Regions from separate parts of the Homo sapiens genome. Here regions 1 and 3 are each linked to region 2. The links are contacts of gene promoters, found by promoter capture Hi-C in blood cells and fetal thymus (Javierre and others, 2016). All regions are on one chromosome and are shown on one strand. The core of a region is centred on a gene start or on the middle of the fragment in contact, and the rest is flanking DNA. Distances in the headings are between cores, read along the strand shown. Region 1 overlaps CDH23 (cadherin related 23). Region 2 holds the start of SLC29A3 (solute carrier family 29 member 3). Region 3 overlaps CDH23 (cadherin related 23).

What was found. Contacts are between HindIII fragments. The CHiCAGO score rates a contact against its expected background, and 5 or more counts as called.
Region 1: a contact is called between a fragment that was not itself captured here and the fragment with the promoter of SLC29A3 in region 2, in 1 of 17 cell types (naive B cells). The highest score is 6.5, in naive B cells.
Region 3: a contact is called between a fragment that was not itself captured here and the fragment with the promoter of SLC29A3 in region 2, in 15 of 17 cell types (megakaryocytes, naive B cells, total CD4 T cells and 12 more). The highest score is 9.6, in megakaryocytes.

What each region holds. Positions count from the first base shown.
Region 1 is chr10:71,541,825-71,545,975 of GRCh38, reverse strand. The region is part of intron 6 of CDH23 (cadherin related 23); the gene reads right to left. Among named protein-coding and RNA genes, the nearest start is that of CDH23-AS1, 32 kb to the right of the region's middle. RefSeq lists enhancers at 1,456-1,965, 3,217-3,796. The HindIII fragment of the contact is 172 bases long and covers 1,868-2,039 here.
Region 2 is chr10:71,316,474-71,320,527 of GRCh38, reverse strand. It overlaps SLC29A3 (solute carrier family 29 member 3), which reads right to left and starts at 1,269. Exons shown (of 6, transcript NM_018344.6): 1 at 1,218-1,269. The coding sequence starts at 1,218. It overlaps LOC124902445 (a long non-coding RNA gene), which reads left to right and starts at 865. Exons shown (of 2, transcript XR_007062183.1): 1 at 865-966; 2 at 1,624-2,559. RefSeq lists a silencer at 1,023-1,472. The HindIII fragment of the contact is 7,819 bases long and covers 1-4,054 here.
Region 3 is chr10:71,560,051-71,563,908 of GRCh38, reverse strand. The region is part of intron 6 of CDH23 (cadherin related 23); the gene reads right to left. Among named protein-coding and RNA genes, the nearest start is that of CDH23-AS1, 50 kb to the right of the region's middle. RefSeq lists enhancers at 794-1,317, 1,318-1,841. The HindIII fragment of the contact is 6,224 bases long and covers 1-3,858 here.

The DNA of each region.
Region 1 (4,151 bases), core at 704-3,203, 220 kb before region 2:
TTTGGCCCTGGTACTTCCCTCGGGTGTCTATACCACCCCAGATGTCCTCCTGGCATTGCCCGTCACTCCCTGGGGGGTGGGGGTGGCCTCTGCAATCACTCTGTCCTCTACCTGGAGAGTCACCTCCCCTAAGATAATGCGTGCTTCACTCCCTCAAGGTCTCTGCTCACATGTCCTCAGAGAGGCCCTCCCTGGCCACAAAGCCTGCGCTAGCCACTTGCCTGCTTTATTTTTCTTTGTGGCCCTTCTCACCAGCAGACATAGATGTATGCGTTGGTTGTCTTGTCTCCCCCACTAGATGAAAGGTGCCAACAGCAGGGACTCCATCAGTTTTGTTTGGCTGCGTCCCCAGCTCTGGGAACAGTGCTTAGCACACAGTAGGCCCTGAAGAACTGTTTCTTGAATGAATAAATGAATGATAGCAAATAGGAAGATGGTATGTGGCATCTAAAGCTTATCAGACTAACTGAAAGTGCAAAAGACTCTTTGGGGGTAAGCATCGGGTCTCCTTATGGAGCAAACAGAAATCAGCCCCTGCAGGGGACACAGGGCAGGCTCATTGATGACGACAACCTGAAGACAGCCCGAGAAAGTGGAAGGTGCAAACTGTCTCACTTTTAATGAAACGCACGGTGGATGAGAACGGTCTAATGGGTTTCTCCGAAGGCCACTGACCTCTCTGGCAGGGACAGCTGCTCTGTCCTCCCCCTCCCCTGCCGTGGCCTGGGAGCACGGTGCCTGTCTCAATATCACCTCTCCTCTCTGCAGTCTTCTTTCCCTCTTGTAGCAGGAGCTAAAGAGATTAAATGATCAACCCCCAGGAAAGGCTGGGGTGAGCACTGCTGTCTCTTTCAAGCTATTGCATCTGGTGCTTCTGGCCTAATGGCTGTTTAGTGGATGCGAATCCCTCCTTCGACAGTAACTTACAGGGTGGACGTGGCTTTCCCCTCCTGCTACTGTCACCAGGGGTTGGGGTCGGGGACTGACTCTGTCCCCAGGGTTACCCCAGGGCACACACTGCACCAGTCACAGACACCAGACCCCAGCCACAGACCACCTCCAACCTCTAAATCTAGCCATAAAATGACTCTCTAACTGTCAAGAAATTGGAACATCATTCGATGGGCTCCTGACTGGCGGAGAAGTCAACTGAAAATGATCCGACTCCCTTTGAAGGTGGGGAGAGTTAGAAAACGGAGCACTATCTTCTTCCCCCAGATAGCTGTGGCCAAAGTTCTTTGCCTCGTGGGTCTTGTCTGTGGCATTGGTGGCTTCTACTTCATGCCTGATTGTGGGAGGGGTATTTGGGGTGTGCAGCGTGTCCCAGGGCAACGTGCCTGTGGCCCCGGGCCTGGTGTAGGTATGCTCCTCCTCTTTTCCATCCCGGTCACTAACCGGTTAACCCTCTGCCAGCATTCCCACTCCTGTGGCTGGAACACAAGGCAGAGGGTGGGAGCGGGCGTGGGGCAGGCTCTGCTGGCAGGGCTCTGATTGCCTTGCCTGCCACTGTCCAGCCCCCAGCCTACTCCCATCGCCAGCTTCGTCCACTCTGCCCTCCCCCTGGTGAGGCTGGGGGTGATTGGAACCCCTTCTGCTAGAGCTGATTAGGCCTGATTTCACCAGCCTGCTTCCACCTCTGGAAACTTCCCCTGTTATTAGAGTTGTTTTCCGCCCACTCTCTCGGTCCACTGGATGAGGAGAGTTTATTTGATTTGATTTCTACCCCCATCTCCCTTTTTTCCGCTACTCCCGTCCACCTCTCCTGCATCTGTGGCAGCCAAGCAGACCAGAGTTCGGTAAAAACCAGGAAAATTAGCTTCTAACCTCAGGAAAGAGCTATAATAAAGCCAGGTGAATAATAAAAGCTTTATCTAACATAACTCTGATTAAAAGCTCAGGCCTGCCTCCTTATCCTATCCTGCCCCACGAGGACGAGGCTGGCCCTTTAAAGCAGCTGATGGTTGAAGGGATGGAAAATACAGCCTGCTCTTGCTTCCAATTTGCTTTTTTCCATCTTTTTTTTTTCTCCTTCTCAAGCTTTGTTTTACAAATTGGGGCACTCTCTAAGAGGCCCAAGGATCCGTCTGCTGCACTTCATTCTGCTCTACAGTACTTAGCAGCTTTGGGAGAACCAAGTCACTGTGAAGCAACAGGTCCCAGCAGCCCTGGGATCCTCCACATCCCCACATGGGGTGGGGTGGCTGGTAAGAGGGTGCTGGGAGGTTCAGCTCCACCCTGGCCCCTGAACTCTATAGAGCCTGAAGGTAATCACAGTGCCCATCTGGGCCTCAGTTTCCCATCTGTCAAATGGAAAGAACCTTTTCCCTTGCTAGAGTGGCTAGGAGAAGCATGAGGACTTGTAAAATTCAGATTGCTGATGGAAAAAAAATGGTTGACTTCCTCCCTCTTAGCTTGCACTGTTATAACCAGAATCATCTATGCGGAACTGGGTGAACAGGAAATCACTTGGCATGTATTCACCCGGCATGGACAGCATCGGCTGCATATGGACCCTAATAAACATGCTGTGGGCCAGACCCTGGAGAGGTCATTACCATCAGACATCTGATCTGTGGGTGCTTTGACAGTGAGGGTAAGGAGAGAGGGGAGCTGTCCCCATCCTCAGGTCTACTACAGCAAGGTTTCTTCCAGTGCTCTCTGGATAATGGAGGTCCTCGGGGACAACAGGCCTGAGGATGAGGGTGACAAGTTCTGGACCATACTGGGCTGCAGAAGTGAAAGCCCTGCTCCAGAAATCAGACACTTGGGTCCCCACCCAACTCCCTGTACTCCTGGGTGGGGCCGGGTGCTCAGCTCTCCGGGCCTTGGTGTCCACACCTGCTGAATGGGGCCCTGGAGGAACAGCGTCTCATAAGTCTGTGCATTCGGGCTGTTCTGAGAAGTTCTGGACTTGCTAGCCTTGCATTACAATGACCTTAGAGCACTGCAACGCTGGCCTCTGGACAGGCCTAATTCCACAAGGCAAGGGCACTCCCATCCAATTCCCCTTTTTGGTGGTTGTCCCCCACTTCAAAACCAGGGGCCCACTAAAGCCCCTAGGCTCACAGAAGCCCCCTGCACGCTGCCACCCTGGAAAGGGGCTTGCTGTTCAGAGCCTCGAAGAACCCGCTCAGCCTGTGCCTCCCCCAGGGGAAGGGGTGGGGAGAGCTGAAGTGTGGCAGCCTGGAGCCTGGCCCTGCTGGCTGGGCGGGTCAGTTTCATTCACCATTCCCAGCCTTCTCTCCCTCAGGGCACCAGGCTGTGGAGGCAGGAGTCTGGTGCTTTTCAATTTCACGCCAGGTATCAGCAGCCAGGTCTTGGCTGGCCTTATCTTCTCGGCCTCCTGCCTAGGTGGGCGCCTGCTGAGCTCAGCCTCCCTGCAAAGCCCAGAGAGAGGCTGTACAGGGCAAAGACTTGTGGGCAGAGGGGGCCCTGGAGAACTGACATCTGTTGGGCAGGCAGGGAGGCCAGGCCCTGAGTCCTGCCATCGGAGGTGGCAGCCTTGTGACCAAGAATCCTTAAGCACAGCAAGACCCTAAAGACAGAGGATTGAGGGCTGCAAATCACAGAGTCACAGATTAATCAATATTCTCCCAGCTGGACGATCCTAGGGATTCTTTTGTCCTCTATCCCACTCTCCCTCATTCTCCATATGAGGAAAAGGAGGTTCTGGAGAAAAGAAGTAACTTGCCCAAGGTCACATGGAGCGAGCAGAGCTGGGATCCAACCCCAGGCTGTGATGCCCAGATACCTGGCTGTTAATTACTAAGCTACGCCACCTTTCTATCTCCAAGTCAACTACATCGAAGATCCTGAGAGGGTCTTCACACACTGAGCGATCCCTAGATAGAAGGCGCCTTCCTCCTGCATGGGACCAAGCCACTGCCTCTCACAGCCTCAGTTTCCTTATCTGGAAAATGAGGAGAGGAAAAAAGTCCTTACCGTCTTTTGTAGATATAAATCAGGGGTCAGCAAACTATGGTCTGTGGGCCAAATCTGGCCCACTGCCTGTCTTTGTTGAAACCACCAGCAAAGAATGATTTTTACATTTTTAAGTGCTTAGCAAAAAATCAAAAGAAGAATAATATTTTGTGATGTGTAAAAGTTATATAAAATTCAAATCTCAGCATCTATAAACTTGTATTGGAACA
Region 2 (4,054 bases), core at 20-2,519:
CCATGTGAAGGCACAGCAAGAAGGAGGCTGTCTGCAAGCCAGGAAGAGAGCCCTCATCAGAAACCAAATCAACCAGCACCTTGATCTTGCCCTTCCCAGCCTCCAGATCCATGAGAAACAAATTTTGTTTAAGCCACCCAGTCTATGCTATTTTGTCTGGCACAAAATGGTACAAATGTAACAAGCTCACTTGTTACATTTTAAAAATTAGTGTTTAAAATGTAAAAAATAATCATGACCCACCCACATAGAACAAGAGAGAACCGGCAAGTGGTTCTTTCCAGAGGCTCCAGCTACCTGTGGGGGCGGCTAGAAGGTCCACCAGCCCTGTCACTCAGGACCACACCTGGCTAGGGCCCCCTTCTCAGTTCCTAGCGTCTATTTGTCAAGGCTTGACTGAGCTTCTGAAGAAGGAGCCAGGAATTTTCTCTAACCAGGGTCACAGGCCAGGGCACTGGAGTGAGCAAAGTCTTATTAGTCTTTATAAAAGCTAGCTGCTGGCTTCTGGATTAAAAAATAAAGAGAAAGGCAGGCAAGGAAGTGCCCAACCTTCCCCAAAACAAGCTGGCTGTGGCCTGGAACGTGCTCCTGGGTCACCTGCGGGAGCCCGGCCATGCACAGACAGACAGCCCCACACAAGGAGGCAGGCACTGCTGGGGCCGCGGCAAAACCTCATCTGGGCTGGGAAGCCTGGGTGCTGGTTCCAAGGAGGTTCCTGACTCTGGCTAGGTGGCTCGCCCCTCTGTGCCTCGATCTCCTGGGCTGTGAACCGGGGTGGGGAGCTGGTAGGGCTAACCTGTGGGAAGGCACTGGGAAGCGCAGGGCACCGCCTACTGGCCGCGGCAGAACCGGCTTTGCGGTGTAAACAGCCCCAGCCTCAGGCCCCGCAGCTGGGACCGAGAGAATCAGCCACCGTCTGGATACTTCGGGCCGACGGGTCCATACCAGGCCCCCACCATACAGGCGGTGAGGTCCAGTCTCAGGGAGGAGGAGGGGAGAGGATTTGGGGAAGAGAAGATAGAGACCCAGAAAGAGGGGTGGCAGAGAGCAAGGAGAGAGAGGAGGGACGGTGGGGAAGGGACCACGGATGGGGTAGGGTCCTGCGGCTCCCCTGGCAGCCCGCAGCCGCCCCCAGGGCCCGGGAGGGAGGTCGCTGAGCGCGAGTCTGGGGGCGGCCGGGACCGTAGCCGGAAGAGCCCGAGCCGGCCCGCACTTACTGTCGCCGCTGCGCCACGCCGCCGCTGCCTCCGGCGCACGGCCAGGACCACTGGGCTTGGCAGGCGGCAGGCGGGCTCCTCCCCCGGCCCCGCCCCGCCCCTCGCGGCAGCACGCCGCCGCTTCCCCGTTTGCAAACACGCTTTTTTCCTTTGTCTTCTGCCGGCGCGCCGGGGCTCCCCCTTCTGGCGCTGAGCTGGGGCCTGCGTGCGCCCATTTTATAGGAGAAAAAGTGAGTCACCCAGTCTTAAACGCACTGCCCATGCTTGCGATGGGTGCGCTGCGCATCAGGCCTTTTGGTTGCTGCTCCTTCTTTACCTTGGAGCCAGACCCCACTGTCTCAGACCTCCCCTTTAGCTACTATAACCTGCACCCCAGGACTCAAAGGAGCCCTCATCTTGTCCCCAGGCCGCTGCAGAGACCCCTCTCCAAAGGCCGCTTCTACCCTTACCGGCTGCCGCTGCTCTGGAGGTGAAGCGGGACCCACACCCGGACTGAACTGGGCCTCCCAGGCCAGGCAGCTATTTTCAGTAGACCCAGAACATGGCAGTCAGCAATTCCAGCCCTCACACTTGACCTCAGCCATAGCGTGTAACACACAGCTGCCGCGTGTTCTTTAAGAAAGCAGGGGCCGGGCGCGGTGGCTCACGCCTGTAATCCCAGCACTTTGGGAGGCCGAAGCAGGCGGATCACCTGAGGTCGGGAGTTTGAGACCAGCCTGGCCAACATGGCGAAACCTCGTCTCTACTGAAAATACAAAAGTAGCCGGGCATGGTGGTGCGTGCCAGTGATCCCAGCTATGTGGGAGGCTGAGGCAGGAGAATCGCTTGAACCCGGGAGGCGGAGATTTCAGTGAACCGAGATGGTGCCACTGCACTCCAGCCTGGAGCCTGGGCGACAGAGCAAGACTCCATCTCAAAAAAAAAAAAAAAAAAAAAAAGGCGGAAACCTTCCTGACTCCCGGTCCTGGCCCAGTTGGCCTATTCAGAGCGGGGATCTGGATGCTTCACAGGGCCTGAAGATCTGTGACCATGGATAGTAAATTCTTGCAGTTGCCATCCCAGGGCTCAGGGGTGCCACAGAACCCATTGAGGCTGTCAGTGTGTGGACAGGTTCTCAGAACATCCCCACTCCCTGCCCCAGCCTCTCATTTTATAACCACCATTCCCCAAACACTGGCCTGATCATAAAAGTCTCGAGTACACATCCAGATTCTGGGGACCTCTCCCCAGGAGGGTTGCTGCCACTCCCCAATCCCTGAGGGTGGTGCTGTATCTGCTTTGTTTGCTCTTCCCTCATCGTGGGCACATAATTTGTGTTCAATAAATACCTGGATTAATACAACCCATCACTCAGGGGGTGCAGAATGGGGATCCAGAATGGATCTATTTAACAAGCTCCACCAGCAGGCGAGTTTGGAGACTAGCACCCTAAATTGTCAGAAAGCCCCCCGGCCCAGGAGAGGAAGGGGCTTAGCTCCAGGCTTACAAGCTGAGGGATAATGGTAAAATTACTAAACCTCTCTGAAACCCAGGGTCGGCTTAGGACTGTCGGGAGAATTAAGTCAGGTGATCCATGCCAGGCACTCAATGCAAATTTCCATCACTTCCAAGGAAGACACTCCCCACCCCCAAAATGTGATAGTGTATATGTTAGTTTAGTCATCAGGCCTTATTTTTAGCCTCTTTACGTTGGAAAAAAATCCTCTAATATACAGAGCATTTTCATGAACAGTCTCCCATTTGATTCCACCCCCCCACCCCAGTACCCAGTGAAATGGGACTGTTGTCCCCATTTTACAGATGAGGAAAGCCAGGCTCAAAGAGGTCAAGTGGCTTCCCAGGGCACACAGCTGGCAGTGATGGAGTGGCAGAACCCAGAGCCAAGGCTCTTTTTGTCATGCCCGGTTACAGGCAGGCAGGTGAGGCTGAGGGGAGCTGGGACAGCACGAGGGACAAAGCCGTAGGATTCAGTGAGGGCAGCAGATCAGGGCTATTTCTGGTCCAGCCCCAAGACCATGACCCATGTCTGTGAAGCTCCGGTGCTTTGTCACTTGATTGCTTTTACTTCATGCAGAGTCCTGAGTTGTTTGTAGTCATTGTTATCTTTATCTTTGGAGAATGTGCATGTATGTGAGTGAGTGAGACAGTTTCAGGACACCTGCTTAGAGAATCAGAGGTGCCAGGAGCCCTCTTCCAGAGCTCTGAGGCTGAGGTCTTTCTCCAAATGGAGGAGGCGCCAGCCACTTGGGGATTTGCTGGTTGCTAGGGCTGAGTTCAGGAAGGGGCTCTGGGGATGGCCTCCATCATGAAAGCAGAAAGCCGTGGGAGGAAACAGGTTGCTAATGCATCCGTGGGGCTGCTTCCCGGACAATGTGGGCTTGTCTTCTCCTCCAGGATCTAGGCGGATGGCGGTGGTAATGTCTAGCTTGGGGACAAGATGAGTCAGGTACTGTTGGGCACACAGCTTCCCAGGGAATGTTTGAGGCTTTGGGGGATCAGGGAAGGAACAGGAGAATGGGGGTCCAGAGCCCTGAGCTCTGAGTCTGCCCTGGCCCCTGACCAGCAGGCCCTTCAGTGACCAGGTAATAAAAACATTTACCCTGACAGATGATCAGAAAAGAGGGAGATTGGGTCAAGAAAGGGAAGTAGAGAGGAAACAGAATAAAAGTGTTTTCACAATACCTACTTCATAGCAGCGGACTCCAGGGAGGGGAGGGATGGGGAGGCTGGGGTGGGCAGGCCTCAGAAATTGGCTGGGTTCCTGTCCCTTGCCTGAAGTTATCCTGAACATTGCTTTTGATAAGTGCTATAGGAGCGGAAAGGTAATTTTTTCTAGC
Region 3 (3,858 bases), core at 877-3,376, 240 kb before region 2:
GGCGTGGTGGTGCGTGCCTGTAATCCCAGCTACTGGGGAGGCTGAGGCAGGAGAACGGCTTGAACCCAGGAGGCGGAGGTAGCAGTGAGCCAAGATCATGCCACTGCACTCCAGCCTGGGTGACAGAGCAAGACTCCGTCTCAAAAAAGAAAAAAAAAAAAAGAAAAAAGAAAAAAAAAGTATTATAAGAGATAAGGTGTGAAAAAAAGAGAGTCTCCTTGGGCCAGACACACAGCAACACTGAGCAACACTCGATAAATGGTTATTGCACTTATTACTATAGTAATAAAATATCATTACAGGCAGGGTGAGATGAGCCCCACATAAAGGGGGAAGTATTAGAAATAGTGTAAACAGTTAATGAATCTCTTCACCATGAACTTGGGACAAATGGGCACCTTAAAATTCAGAAAGAGAACATCTCTGCTGATTGGATCCTGGCTGCTGAAGACAAGATGAGGATGGAAGAGCCCCAGAAGACCTTCCACAATGGGCTTGAGAGCCTGTGAGGGGAGGGGTGGGATCTGAGGCAGGGGTGAGGGGGGCACCTGGGGGCCTGGGAGGCTCCTAAACGAGGAAGCCAGTCCTGACCATACACCACCCTGGATGGCTGGAATGCAGGAGCTGGAAGGAACCTTGGGGTCATCTAGTCCAGCCTCCCCATTTCCTAGGGTGGACTACAGATGTGAAAATGAGCCCAGAGAGGGGATGTGCCTTGCTCCAGGCCTCACAAGTGGATCATGACAGAGTCGAAGAGTGGAAATCGGGTGCCTTGACTCATACGGAGTGCTCTTTCCACCCCACCCAAAGAGATACCAACAGCTGCCTCCCCACCCACCCTCCTTCCAAGAACAGCTGCTCCTCATGACCACAGCTCTGCTCTAGGTGATGGGTCTAGGCACTCATGTTTGTTCCAAGTGACTTCAGACCCAGGCCATGCCAATCAGGTGGGGCCTGAGAAATTAAATCAATTTTCTCTGAGAATCTGAAAGAAAGATCTTGTTATCTGGCTGGAGTGGGCACCATGACAGGCCGAGAGCCACACAAAAGCCACAGTTACAGGGTGGCAGAGATGCCACAGGCAGTCAGAGGAAGCCCACCTGCAGTGAGCGGAGCAGAGCACAGTGCAGGAGAAAAAATGGAGATGAGGGCCTCCAAGAGCCTCCCACCCTGGCTGTCCCAGGCCCCGCTGACTTTGTCTCCTGCCCATGGCTGCGGTGCTGGGACCTGCCTGTGCCGTCCTTTCTATGGGCACCCCACTTGCTCACGCTGGCCTGCATGGGTCTCAGCTCCTTGCTCCTGCCCCCCAGAACATGCCCAGCCATGGGCAGGGCCTCCTCATTTCCATGGCTCTGCCCCAGGCTCACCCAGACCCTCTGCTGATGGGACTCTACCTCTTTAGCGCCCACAGCAAGCAAAGTGCCAGGCCACCACTCCTGGACTGCTAATGAGGGCACAGTGCCCGCCACCCGAGGCTGGAAGTTACAATGGGGAGAAGAATCAAGGAGCCTGGGTAAATGCCAGCTCCCTCTTCTTTTTAACCGTCTCCAGACACTCCTATTAACGTGCAAATCCAGGTTGCAGGCAATTATCAGCATGCGCATGGGGAGGTGGCCGGACGGGCAAGGGATGGCTTGATCATGGACTTCACACAGTCAGCCAGGACAGGCCTTGAAGAGAGATGCTCGGCAGGGCCAGACTTTGCCATCTGAGGACAAGGAGAATGAGTGGAAGATGTCGCTCTGGTGTCTGGGGTGGGGTTCGGGGCGTCTGGGGTGGGGCTTGGAGTGTCTGGGGTTGGGGCTGCACGGGTTGGAGTTGTAGAAGCAGCACCAAGAGGCCTGTTGCAGCTGGGGGTTGGGCTCCTCCTTTCCAGGGTAGCTTCTTCCAACACCTCCATTGTGGACACTCGCCCTGGGTCCAGCTTCTTGCTGGAAAGGAGCAGCCGTGGTCTTTGGAAGAAAGACCCCATGGGGCATGATCACTTCTGCTTCTGAGGGAGGCCTCTTGACCCACTTCTCTGCCCCACCCCTGCTTCCCTCCTCCCCTCCTTCATGGTACCCCCCTGCCCAGTCCCACCTACTCCCTTATGGCTTCTGGGCCATTTCAAAGGAAGTCTCCCCAAATGTACACCCATGCCTTCAGGGGACCAGGGAGCATGTCTAGGCATTATCCCCTTCAAAATTCTTGCACCTGCCAGGTTGTCTCTCTCGCCAAGTAACCCACGGCAGGTCTTGCCTCTTCCAGTTCCCATTTAAGCTCCATATCACTTCTGATGGACCTGCTGTAAATGGGCCACCCTGTGCAATTCAGAGACAAATAAATCTTTTTGCTACTCCTGGGGTGACAAGGGAATAGACTCTGGGAAAGTTCTGCCGTGCAAAGGATCTTGTTTGTTAATAATAATGATAAATAGCTCACTTCTCACATGCAGTGTGAGTTACATTACACTCCAGGCCTCTCCAGAGGTGGCTAGGTTGCTCACTGGAACAGGGTGAGGGAGGGTGTGCAGCAAGGGAGAAAAGGCCAGAGGGAGTGGGGCAGAGAGGCAGGAAGGAGGAACCAGACAGAGAGAGCAGTAAAGAAAGGGGGGCAGGGAGGAGGGGCAAGGAGAAGGAAGAGCACAGGAACACAGAGGAAAATGCGGTGAGAACAGTGAGAGGGGCAGGACTGAGGGCCAGAGTGAAAACGGGATAAAGTGGAAAGATAATTTGCGAGAGAAAAGGGAGGAAAGGAAACTTGGGGAGAAAGGAACTAACTGAAACAGGAAAAAAAAGAGACATTCTAGAGGAAAACTTATGAACAGAGGAAAAGACATACAAAAATTAAGCAGCAAGAGAAAGGAAGATAGGAGAGAGAGAGAAAAGAAGGACGCCACACCCTCTCACCTTTAGGGTGCACCTGCTCCCTTCACCCCCTTCAAGATTTATGCTGTACCCTTGACCAAACTTTGGCAAAAAGCCCTACCATTTCCACCATAGGTGCCATCTCTAAAGGTGTTATTAATATTTATGGAATGCTTGCTAGATGCTGCTACAGTCTTTAATATCTTATTACAGAGCCTGTTATAAAATGCATTAGTAATAAATTCCTGACAGATGGAGTCCTGACAAGGTGCAGGCTTCTCGGTGGATCAGAGCTGGTAACAGCCTCCTGTGCTACTCAGAGGCTGGGCAGCTGTCTGCTGGGGCTGGGGTGGGGAGAGGAGAGGGGCTAGTGGGATTCTGCCCTCCCATCCTCTGCCCTCAGTTGCATTTTTATACACCTCCGCTCCCTGCTTCCTTTTCCCAGATGGGGAAAATGGAAGGTCAGAGAAATGAAGCCACTTGTCCAAGGTCGCACAGATTGTAAGTGGTGGAATCAGGATTCAAAGTCGGGTCACCTTTCTGTGCCCAGACCTCAGGATTCCAGAGAAAAGGGTGGAGAGTGGGCTCAGGGCCCCTCCTCAAGTGGGACTTCCTGGTCTGGAAGGGCTGGGGATGAGGGTGGCAGCTGAAGACGCCTCTAGGTAAGAGAACAGAGGTTTGGTGGGGAGCTGTAGCCAAAAAAGAGCTTAGGAAGGAAGGAGGGTACTTCAAAATTGCACACTTTCACTGAGAATAAGAAAATGGGCTCCCATTGGAACAAGAAGAATTCAAGTCAGAGGCAAGGAACTTTCTGAACATGGGCTCCTGGGGCAGAGGAGAAACATCTGCACTTCGGTTTCTGTTGGATGCTAAAGCAGGCGCCTCTCCTACTGGGATGCTTTGGGAGGATGTCACTTCCAAATATGGGGGTTTGTGGCATTCCAGCTTATGGGGGAGCAGTGATGGAGGAGAAATGGGGTCTATGGGAGAGGTGGGCTATGTTTCTTTCTCA